2 separate regions of the Homo sapiens genome follow, and region 1 is linked to region 2. The links are contacts of gene promoters, found by promoter capture Hi-C in human tissues and cell types (Jung and others, 2019). All regions are on one chromosome and are shown on one strand. The core of a region is centred on a gene start or on the middle of the fragment in contact, and the rest is flanking DNA. Distances in the headings are between cores, read along the strand shown.

Region 1 (5,719 bases), core at 2,257-4,756, 310 kb before region 2:
AAGCAAGAGAGAACAAATTCTGTGTTTAACCACTCAGTTTGTGGGACTTTGTTACAGCAGCCCTAGTAAACTAACATAACCAGTTAGCTATCCATGTGCACATTTGAGGCAGGCCTGGTTACTGTGATGGAGACTATGGCTTATGTCTCTACATTTGATCAATGAACTGCCGAGTCCCTGGTCCTGGTGGAAGACCTATGTAACCTTGAAGTGAGCAGTTTGGGGTGAATGTTCCTGAGTGAGCAGGTTTCCATCTTCTTTTCATATAATAACTGACTAGCAGTTAACTTCCATATAGAAACAAGATTTCTGTCTTGCTCTTCTAATCCTTTTGTCATTGTTGTTTTCTTCTACCACTCTCACATTAATTGTAAATGGCTTAAAGAAATCAATTTACTTTTGGTTTATTTTATAATAAATAATTTAAATAATTTAGCATTATTTTATAATGATAAATTTGCATTAGTGAAAAAGTTAAAGATGTTTATCTCAACCTCAAAACATGCTGTCAGAGGAACAGTCAGAAAGCAACTTAGCAAACTTCTAGTCCAGTGGTCCACAATTCTGGCTGTACGTTATAACCACATGGAGCCCTTTAAAAATACCAACACCTAGATCCCACCCCTAGTGCTTCTGATTTGATTGATACAAGGTGGGGCTTGGGCTTTGGTGTTTTTTTTTTTTAAATGCCCCAGATCATTGTAACTTGTAATCAGGATTGAGAACCAGAGAACTGGTCCAACCCTTTCATTTTACAGAAGAGAATGTTGAGGCCAAGAGAGGTTAATGACTTGTCCAGTTCAAACAGCCAAGCTCCCTGCCACTGCATGTGCCATGCTGACCCCACAGTAACCTGCCCCTCCTTCACTAGGATAACTCCTGGTCATGAGTCACAGCTTGGCTTAATTGTCCATGCCTCTGTGGGGCCTTTTCTAACCTACCAGCCCCTAGCCTTCCAGGCCAGGTGGCAGCCTTTCCTCTGTCCCTGTAGCTTTCACAATGACTCCCTTTATCACACAGATTGATTTTTCAGGCTTTCCTCCTCTAGACTGTGGACTCCTTTGGGGCAAGAAATAGCCATGTGGAGGGAAACTAATAGGAACTTGTTCCAAAGTGCAACAAAGGAGGATTCCAAATCACTTCCAGTTTCCTAATTCATAAGTAATTCATACTGTCAGATTCATCTCTGCCTGTTACTAGTGTCTCTTGCTTTTTTGCTTGCATTTATTTAATAATGCTTATTGAACTTCTGATTATAAAAGTAATTCACACTCATGGTGGGGAATTTGGAAAACATTCACAATTACACAAGTAAAATAAAATTCCCACAGAATCACCACCCGAGGGCCTGTTATTGATGTGCTTCCTCAATTGATCAAGCATTTATTGAGTACCTATCACATGCCACTTGGTGTCAGAACACTATGTTCAAGCCAGCCCTCAACCTCAGTGGCTTCACTCTCTTTATTTGTAACATAAGCTCCATGTTTGAAATTTTGTCCTCACAACAACCCCATATAGTAAGTATTATTTCCACACAAGCAAAAAGAAATTGCCTAGGTTTCTTAGCCTGGTTCCGGGATTAGCACGTAGGTCAGGCTGATGCAAAGCCTGTGCTTGCTCTATTAAGGCTGTTGAATTACCAGGCTCTAAAGGCTTGGTCAGTTCAACAGGTCAGATTCTGAGCTCTGATAGTAACCATAAAAACACATGGTTAAGAAACAGTGAGCAGTGCTGTCATGGACAGCTGCACAGGTTGTGCATTGTCAACCCTGAGAGGCATCACTCACATTAAAGTCTACATGAACAGCTTCGCAGGAGCTGTGTAGTGCCATGGACTCAGGGATGAGGGTCTGCACTGAGCTGAGGACTGTGTCTCTGGGCTGAGCCTGGAACACCTGCAGGTTATGGAGCAACATGGAGGGTTAAATTGCCTCAGGTAAGCTGTCAAACCACACTGTGCACTGAGCCACGGAACTGAAATGCCACATGCACACAGGCCTTCTGAAAAGCTCTCTGAAATGCCAGGAGAGAAACAGAACAAGAGGGAGAGAGATGAAGGGTAAGCACTTCAAGGCCATTTACCTGTCTCTTGGAAAAGCACTTTCTTTGAGAGGAATTGCTAGTGCAGGATGAGGAAGACTCTGCTGGTGGTGGGGAGGAGTAGTGGAGGATTGCTCCTTGGGCCGGCCAGCCTGCAGCAATGGCTTCAAGGCCAAGTTGAAAACTGCTTGGGAAACATCCACGCTAGTTCCTGGGCATCCTGGGGGAAGTGAATAAAGCCAAAACAGCTTTCTTCCCAGCGGTGGGGCGGGGTGACCATATCCCCATAGAACTTTGGAGCAAGGAACAAAGAGCTCTTCTCATAACTCAGAAAAATCATCAGGAGAGAATTGTGAGGACGTAAAATGAGAAAACAACAAAATAAACTTGTAGGAGACACAGGATGCTGTTTTAATAATCAACATTGTCACCTTAACAAACCCTAGCATTTCTGTGGCATTTGCAAAGCATTTTCATACACATTTGATCTTCCCAACGACTCTGTGAGATTGTTACTACCGCCACTTTACTGATGAGGAAACTCAGGGTCAGCAGGACCTGCGATATGGCCCATACCTATCAAGTGTGGCAGCCAGGGCTCCTGATAACGCATCTGAGCTCCCTTTGTAGGAGGAAAGTTTCAAAACTCACAGTGGGAAGATGTCCTAGGGCAGTCTTGGAAAGAATGGTTGGGAAGAAGGCCTGGAAAAGGACTGGTGACTCTTAGCTGGCTGCTCCATCTTTAATCTTGCAGGGAATGGCCTCTTGAACTTTCAAGATCTGACATCTGCCCGCCCTCCAGAGTCATTACCATCTGTTACCTCTTATTTTTGACACTCTGGACTCCTCCAACCTTAGCCATTATGAGCTGCTACTACTCTGCTTTCCTGAAAGATTATCCTTCCAGGTGTTTCCCCTGGTTATTTCCTATTCAGCAGTTGCCTCCTCCAGGGAGCCTGTCATAATCCCCATAATCTGGGTACCCCTTCTCTAAGTTCCCATAGCTTCCTTTTGCATACTTCCCTCAAAGCAATCATCAATTGGCTATTTGCTTAGCTGTCTTGGTAATCTTGTCAGTGCCACCTCCAACATAGATTTACAATTAAATCATTCCACTTCTACTAGTAAAACTCTAGGCTGAGCCATCATCATCTCTCACCTGACAACAGCCTCACCTCAGCTCTTACTTCCTTTAGTCCGTCCTCCACATGGCTGTCAGAAAGAGCTCTCTGGGTCTAAACGAGAGCATATCACTCTGCTGCTTCAAACCCTCCATTGCAGGCAGGAAAACTACAATTGGTGCACTGAATCTGGCCTGCCACGTGTTTTCATAAATAAAGTTTTATTGCAACACAGCCATGCTCATTTGTTTAAGTATGGTCTGTGGCTGCTTTTGACTATAATGGCAAATTGAGTCATTGCCACAGAGACCATTTGACCTGCAGAACCCAAAATATACCTAGCCCTTTACAGAAAAATTTGCTGACTCTTATTCTATTGGCTTGCCATCTGTTTTGGTGATCCACTGTTATGTAACAAACCAACCCAAAGCGCTCTCCCTTTTTACTTCTTCCTACCTATCTCTCAATCTTGATTGATTCTGAGGCTGTCCTGAGGATGTGGGTGCTATAGATTGAATGTTTATATCCCTCCAAAATGTATATGTTGAAATTCTAACCCCTCCGAGTGATGGTATTAGGGGGTGGAGCTTTTGGGAGGTGATACCCCATGAACAGGATAAATATCCAGGAGGCCCCAGAGGGCATCCTTCCCCTTCTACAGTGTTGGGACACAGCCAGAAGGCAGCCGTCTATGAACCAGGAAGCAGGCCCTCTCCAGACACTAAATCAGCCAGTGCCTTGATCTTAGACTTCCTGACCCCAGAACTGAAAAAAACAAAATTCTGTTGTTTACAAAGCACCCAGTCTATGGTATTCTGTTATAGCAGCTTGTGCAGACTAGGTCAGTGGACCTAACTGAGAGCCTGCCTATGGTGTTGGGTGGGCCACAGGGTTTTGATGGTACTCTGTGGTTGGGGTCTCCACACGCTTCAGATACCTCTGTTAGTCCTAAGACCTCCCCAAGTGTTTGGATTTGTCCCAAGATGAGCTTGGCATGTAGCGTGGGGGCCCTTACGACTTATAATGGGAGAGTTCCAGGTCCTAACAGTGAGTAGCTCTGCCCACCAATGTTTGTTGAGTGAAGAATGAACATGAGGGTCAATCCCAGCCTCACCCTGGTCAGAGATTCTCTATCCTGACCCCTGGTATGAGATCCCAGTCTTTTGGCTTCTCCCACTCGTGCTTGGCCCTTCCTTTCCTGCCCTTGCTGGATGTACCTGTCTGTCTCCTCTCTGTACTGCCCCTTGCACGGGGGAACAGTGAACTCTGCTACTGGAAACCTTGGAAAAGGACAGCATATACATATGTACATTGTAGAAGAAGAGAATAAAATGGGTCAGAATATCACCCCAGGCCCTTGCTCCAAAAGATGAACAGTTTCTTTCTCCTTCGAAAAATCTACTCAGTAAGGCATAAAGCAGAAGAAACCTGGCAATTCTATTTGAAATAGAATCCTCTTCCCAAATTACCATATTTCCAATTAGAACCACATCTTCCCCCTGGCCTCTGCCCCCTTGCTCTCTCTTCTGTGCAAAGCTGTAGTGGGGAAATGTGGATTCCACTGATTAAAAGGAGCCTGTGATGGGCCTGCCACCAGTGGGTTCTGAAGAGACACATCCAATTAAAACAGACAACATTTTCAAAGACCCTAGTCAGCATTTCATCTCCTCAGCACTTTCTCCAACATGTCAGTGTTACCTGTGGCAGTTCTTCTCGCCCCCCGGCCCCCAGCCCCCTGGCAACATGAAATTTAGGTCAGTAACTGCATAATCCACAAAAGCAACCCTGGTTGCCTCCTCTCCCTCCTCCCACCTTGGGAGTTGTATGTTTGGAAATACATAACTGGCCCAGTCATTTCCCCCCAGCAGACTTCAGGGTCTGGGGTGGGAACTCAAGCCTGGCAATGCTGGGAGGCTGATGGCACCTGTGATGAGACAGAGACTGAAACTGATGATGTGATTCAAGAATGAAATAAAGCCCAGCTCCCACCCAGGGGGCCAGCTGAGCTGTCTCATTGTAACATTAAACTCTATACTCTACCTTGCAAATCAACTGTGTGACCTGGGAGAGCCACTAACCCACTCAGGGCCCAGGTTTTCATCCATGAGATGGGGTGAGCTGGCTGAACCTCTAAGCCTCCCCTGCTGCTCTAGTGCCAATACTTCTCTGCTTTCACAGAGCCTTTTGGAGGCAAATACTCTTTCTCAGGGGTAATGGGGGTGCAGGTCACCCCACTAATCAGCTGAGTGTAAATCTGTGTCCACTCGTTTCTGGAGATGCCTTTGTGAGACCTGGGCAACCCCATTTCCCAGACAGAGAAATGCCACTTAGCCAAACTAGCAGAGGGAATTGGCTTCCTCCCTAAGCATCGCGCTTGCCATTGACACAGCACTGTTTTCTCAAACAGGAAAGTAAATTCTGTGCTGGGAAAAGTGAGAGACAGAGTAGGCAGGCTGGAGCCAGCCCAGGGGAAGAGGACGTAGAAAATGTCTCCTCATACTCCTCCTCCCTTAAGCAGGCCTCTCCTGTGCAGAATTCCTGGCATTTATCAGAGA
Region 2 (5,717 bases), core at 1,144-3,643:
CATTATCCACAGTGAACTCACATCCACAGTGCCTGGGCAAATAAGCCTTTGGTAAATATTTGTTGTTATTATCTCTAATGACCTAAGAAAGTAGTACAGCTCACATCAATCTGTAAAAGTAAACAAATGGTTAACATTTTCCAATTGCTACATAAAGAAAAACTATCAACAACATAATTTTATGAGACAAATGTCTTGGATAGTGTTGGTACCTCGGGTTGGACGATCCCTATTTTTCTCTCTTGCAGCAGCTCTCTCTCTTTCTTCCAACTCTCTCCTGAAGTCACGGTTACGAACCTCTTCAGGGGCATCCTGAGTAGTCTGTCTAAAGTAGAAACAAACCAGGGCAAAAATGTTACTTAAACACACACACACACACACACAGAGACTGTAGTAATGGAAGACAATTCAGGAATGAGACTTTGTCCTTCAAGCAGAAAAAAGGGAAGTAGACAAGATCATAATTTAATCTGAAGGTTACTAACAGCCACTCTTGTGATGTTCCCAATATTTCAAGAAGTCCAAATTCAATCACATATTTTCCTATAATAAGGCTTTACAGTGATTAAAATGTCTTTAATTTTTATTAGGATTATATCAACTCAGAACTTAACAGTAATACTTTTAATATACTGACTGGTGCTCATAGTGCATACTCTGAGGCATTATTATTTCTATTATTTATTGTTCTATCTACATATGAAAATTCCTGGTTAGTAGGAATTTCACATTTTAAAATCACAGCAGAATTTTAGTGTTAAACATCCTATTGCATTCTATTCCTATGAAAATAGATAAGTGACATAACTCAAACATACTACTATATCATGACCATGCCATTTAACAGATCTGGTCTTGTTTTGTGAACAATAAAAAAAGAAAGTCTTACTACCTGTATTTTATCTTTGTATGAGAGGGTAGGTCTCTGCTTGAATACTGCTTTGAAAGTTGGCTCAAATCACCTTCTCCTTTTCCCCTTCCACCTCTGGCAGGTTCAAAGGTTGGCCTGGCTGCTGTTGTCATCTTTTATGCTTTGAAGAAAAATATAATCAAGTTATTTCCAACATTACAAACACTCATTTTATAGAGTATTAATCAATATCCATACTGGTAAAATAAGTTCTAAAACTCATTCCCCAAAACCTGCTTAATCTTCTTAAACAAAAGTTTTCAAGAAAACAAATTATGAGGCTTAGGCTGTACAAGGAATATGGCTTCTCAGGCTTGCCTTAGTACAAAAAATTCTGTCATGAAGATCTGAGTTTGCATCCCTATTCTCCTTCTGACTATATGGGCTTGAGCAAGTCACCTGGCTTAACTTTGTCATCTGTGGAATGGAGATATTCCTCATAGATTATAAGAATTATGACACTTGACATGTCAAAACCCTAGTAAAATACAGTACTGCCATGACTGAGTTTTAAAAATTTCCAACTCAACCTTACTCTACCAGACTCTGTAAGGTTTGCATTTTATCTAAACTTCACACAATAGCAAATAGGCTAGTAGAAACAAAAGCTAAAAACAAACAAAAAATATCACTGACAAAGTTACTAAATGTCCCAGAGAAAAGTGTGTTAAACTTCAATGACAGTTACACAGAAAAAAATTCTTAAACAACCGTTTGTTGAGCCAATTTTCTCCTACAACAGGCATCATACTATAAATTAGATCGTTTGTGGGTTATAATTTAAGGCCTGTTCAAAAAAAACAGGAACCTCACCCCCAGAGGATTCTGATGCCAAAAATCAGGGACTCATTCCTCAAGTTACTTTCTGCTTGGAGCAGTCACAAGAATACTGTGCAGCAGATGCAGTCACTAAAACCCTGTTAGTGTCGGAAAAGCAAGTGTGTGGGGAGGGTGGGCGAATTGGGAGGATTTTTTGGGGGGGGGGCGATGCTAATTCTCTCAACTTTCAAAAAGGGTAGAGACATGTATACAAAGAAGAAAACAGGGTTATCTGGCGCTGGGGGCGCCGCCCCTTCCCACACACCCACGGAATTATCACTCCGGCCTCCCGTGAGCTAGTCTTTGGCTATAACCAGAAACTCGCTGCCTCTTCACCCGTGCCCAGCACTGCAGGGGTGCGAAGGGTAGTGAAGGGAGGACCTGGGGTTCGCTTTACGCAGTAGGCGAGCTGCCTGTACGCTGCGATCTCCTCGGCGGGCCCAAGAGCTCCAGACGCGCCTGACAGGCACTCGGTTCCGCCCCTAGCCCGCTGCTCCAGGGCCTCCACCGCCCGCGCTCTGCACTCTGCCGCCGACTCCGACCCCAACTGCCCTTTCCCGTCCCATCGCGATAAGAAAGATAATCTCCTATCCTCTTGCCGCTCACACTGGCCGAGGTCCGATGCAGCAGGCTCCGAAGATCATACAGACGCCATTACCACTCTTGGCTCCCAGAAACCTCTGCGCCCAGAGCTAGCGCCTACGACCCGGAAGCAAAATCCAAGCGCTTCGGGGGCGGAAGCAACGACCAATCCGCAGTGGCCGAAGTGGAAGTCGGCGTAACGGCACTAAGGGGCGGGGCCGAAGCGGCCCAGGGGGCGGGCGTTTGAAATCAGTGCCTTAGAGTAGACCCTAAACCTCATTTTATACCTTCAAGAACCAATTACTTAATGTCTCTTCCGTCTTTTCCGTCCCCGACCCCCTCCCAGACTCCTTCATTCCGGTACTGCGTGGACGGAAAGCCCCGGGTAGCCGACACCACGTCCCCGGCTAGCGGGAGAGAGCGTGGAAAAGGATTACACCAAACTGTTTAAATCCAACGACTCCTGCTTCCATCCTTTCTCCTGAGCTAGAACCAACAAACCTAGAGAGTTGGGCTTCGGAAAAACTAGTGTTTTCATTTAATTGGATATGAAGAAAGAACAAATATGTACGGGGCAACCACGATCTTTACAAAGGTACCATTCCTGCAAAAATATTAACACTTCAAAGCAAAGGTTGTATTCGTAATGTTTGCTAAAATTTCTTATTTAAAAAACGTTAGTTTTAGTGGGAGGGGAGATGTCAGTATTTACGAGAGCGTTTACAATGGTGGGCCCAACTACCAGGAGCACAAGATGTAATTATTAAGATGGCTACTTAAGTGTTAAGTTTTAATAAGACAACGAAAAGTAGAAAACCCGAAAACCAAAAACCTACCAGTCGTCTCTCCTCCCTTCCATAAAAACAAATTCTGAGAATAGAGATCTTGGTTGTTTAGCTCATCTTGGTATCTCATCACATAGACCTTGACGTATAGTAGCTGCTCAATTAATATTTGTTAAACAAATGAAAATTCAACTTCCCCAACTTAGTTTAAAATGTAAGGAACTCACAAAATTGAATATTTAAATGCTTTCTTACCCCTAAATTCTTTGCAACTTTTTAATGAAGAAAGAAAAGCAGAAAAAGCCCTTTCAGTCATAGAGTTCAAGATGAAAATCCTGATTTTTCTTACCGAAGGTATCCCTCCTCCAGTCTTAACAAGTCTCACTAAAAGACGCGATCATCATGCTAGTTACTCAAACCAAAATCCCGGAGTGCCTACTTAAATTCCTTTTCATTCACTCTTCACATACGGTTCATTTACAGGTCTTAACAATTCTACTTTTAAAACTCACCCGCAATTTTATTCTACTGCCACTACCCTTGCCTTTGCCAACACCATCTCCTACCTGGATTGTAATTGCTTCCTATTATATCTTCCTGCGTCATCTTTTATCCTACAGTCAGTGTTGCATATAGCCAAGAGAGTGATCTTTTAAAATTAATAAAATGGTGTTACTATCCTGTGTACAATTTCACTGCACTTAGAATAAAAATCACATTTCTTAATGTGACCTGAGACCCCACGGAGTCTGGTTCCTGCCTACCTTCCAGACTTCACTTCCAATCAGTCACTCGCTTACGCACTAAGCTCTAGACACAGCCAAGTGGGCATTTCTGTTTTATAAAACAGGGCAAGATTCCTTCTATTTTAGGGCCTTTGCACTAGCTTTTCTCTGTTGCCTGTGCCCCAAAGTAACTGTATCACCATCCTTCATGTCTCAGGTATCACAGTGAGGTTTTCCTACCCCCACCCCTCCAACACTTGTGTTTGTACACCATCACATCACCCTGTTTCATTTTTCATACCACTAAACATTACCAGAGTCTATTCTATTCATTTTTTATTTCCATGTCTCTCAGGAGACAGCATGCGAAGGTCATTAAGAGAAAAGGATCTTCAGCCTGCCCATTTTTGTTCTAAATTCCAGTTCTGCCCTTTCCTAGCTCTATAACCTTAGGCAAGTCATTTTCCCTTTCTGTGCTTTCAGTTTCCTCACGTGTAAAATGGGCGTAATTCTAGTCCCTAACTTGTAATACTACTCTAAGGATTAAGTGAATTAATACTTGTAAAGTGCTTAGAACTGTCTCAGCAAATAGTACTTGCTAAATAAATGTTAGCTATTATTATTATTATTAATATTATTTTTATTATTATTGTCTATCTTCCTATATTAGAACATAAGTTCCAGGAAAGCAGGAACCTTGTCTCTCTTGTTCACTGGGTGTATCCTCTGCATATAGAACAGTGCCTGGCACATAATAGGTGCTGAGTAAGTATTTGTTGAATGAATGAATGAATGAATGATGCACTATGAAGTAGAGGAATGACGTAACAATGGCAAGATGGTAACACAATTATAGGAGATACCCACAGTTTTTATGTTCCAACTGTCCTCATTAGCCTGGAGTGAATCACTTCATTGATTTAACTCCCAGCCCACTAACCTAATCTTTTGGTTGCCAGTGGTGATAAATAGCCACCCTATAATTTCATTAACACCAATATACAATATAGTCAATCCACAAAATTAAAAGCTTTTGACTTAAATGAAAGTGCTAATAAGAAAATGAAACTAAAGCTTTTGACTTAAATGGTTTGAAAGTATTAAGAAAAAGAAACTTAAGTTTACTAAAATCTTGAAATTCATCTGATCAGTTAACCTAGCTGGCAAAAATCATATAACCTCCCAAGAATTCTTATGTTAAACCTGTTACCACAAAATCTAGTTTGGCCCTTAATTCTGCCTGCCAGTCCTCTTATGCTCTCCTAATTGTTTATTTTCCCCCTCTACAATAATATAATTTCCCACATTCCCCTTTCTTCAAGTCTACATGCCTCTTTCACCTCCTTTTCCCTCTGCATTCTCTTTCCTGGCAGTAGATCTTCTCAGTTCTCTGAGAAAACAGAAGCTCTTAAACAAGGACTTCTCATCTCCTTTTTTCCGCAGATCTATCGAGCTGCCTTTGGCTATTCCTGTATCCTCAGATTCTCATTATTACTGGAGATGAGGTGACCCACACTCTCCCTTGTGCTCTGGGTCCTAATTCCTCCAGGTTTCTTAGTGGCTGGCATTTTGCTATATATTTTCTCTTTCTTATGATCTATGAGGCCATCCCTTTCAGATCATTTTTATCAGCTTTTGGACATGGTATAGTATATCTTAACCTTAAAAAAGGCTCTTTCATTTTAGTATGCCAAAGGTAGCATTTAATTAAATGTGAAAGGGATGTAGTTTGGCCCTTGATTGCAAAACTTTCTATTTTTATGGCAGGAGTAGCATAGGAATTCCAGTTTAAAGCTTAAACAAAATCAACACCTAAAAGGGAAAATAGAAACCATAAAAACCTAAGAAGAAAATTTAAGAAACTATTTATAGAACCTAGAATTTGGAAAGACCTTT

The links. The method cuts DNA at HindIII sites, captures the fragments that hold promoters and counts their contacts. A contact is called where the count stands out against the background at its distance.
Region 1: a contact is called between a fragment that was not itself captured here and the fragment with the promoter of CWC15 in region 2, in 1 of the 25 tissues and cell types used here (IMR-90 fibroblasts).

Annotation. Positions count from the first base shown.
Region 1 is chr11:94,663,629-94,669,347 of GRCh38, forward strand. All of the region lies in intron 4 of PIWIL4-AS1 (PIWIL4 antisense RNA 1), which reads right to left. Among named protein-coding and RNA genes, the nearest start is that of LINC02700, 28 kb to the left of the region's middle. The HindIII fragment of the contact is 6,066 bases long and covers 474-5,719 here.
Region 2 is chr11:94,971,163-94,976,879 of GRCh38, forward strand. CWC15 (CWC15 spliceosome associated protein) reads right to left here and starts at 2,394. Exons shown (of 7, transcript NM_016403.4): 1 at 2,336-2,394; 2 at 893-1,031; 3 at 213-325. The coding sequence starts at 1,023. KDM4D (lysine demethylase 4D) reads left to right here and starts at 2,547. Exons shown (of 3, transcript NM_018039.3): 1 at 2,547-2,906; 2 at 4,492-4,586. RefSeq lists enhancers at 1,671-2,446, 2,161-2,330, 2,651-2,800. The HindIII fragment of the contact is 10,665 bases long and covers 1-5,255 here.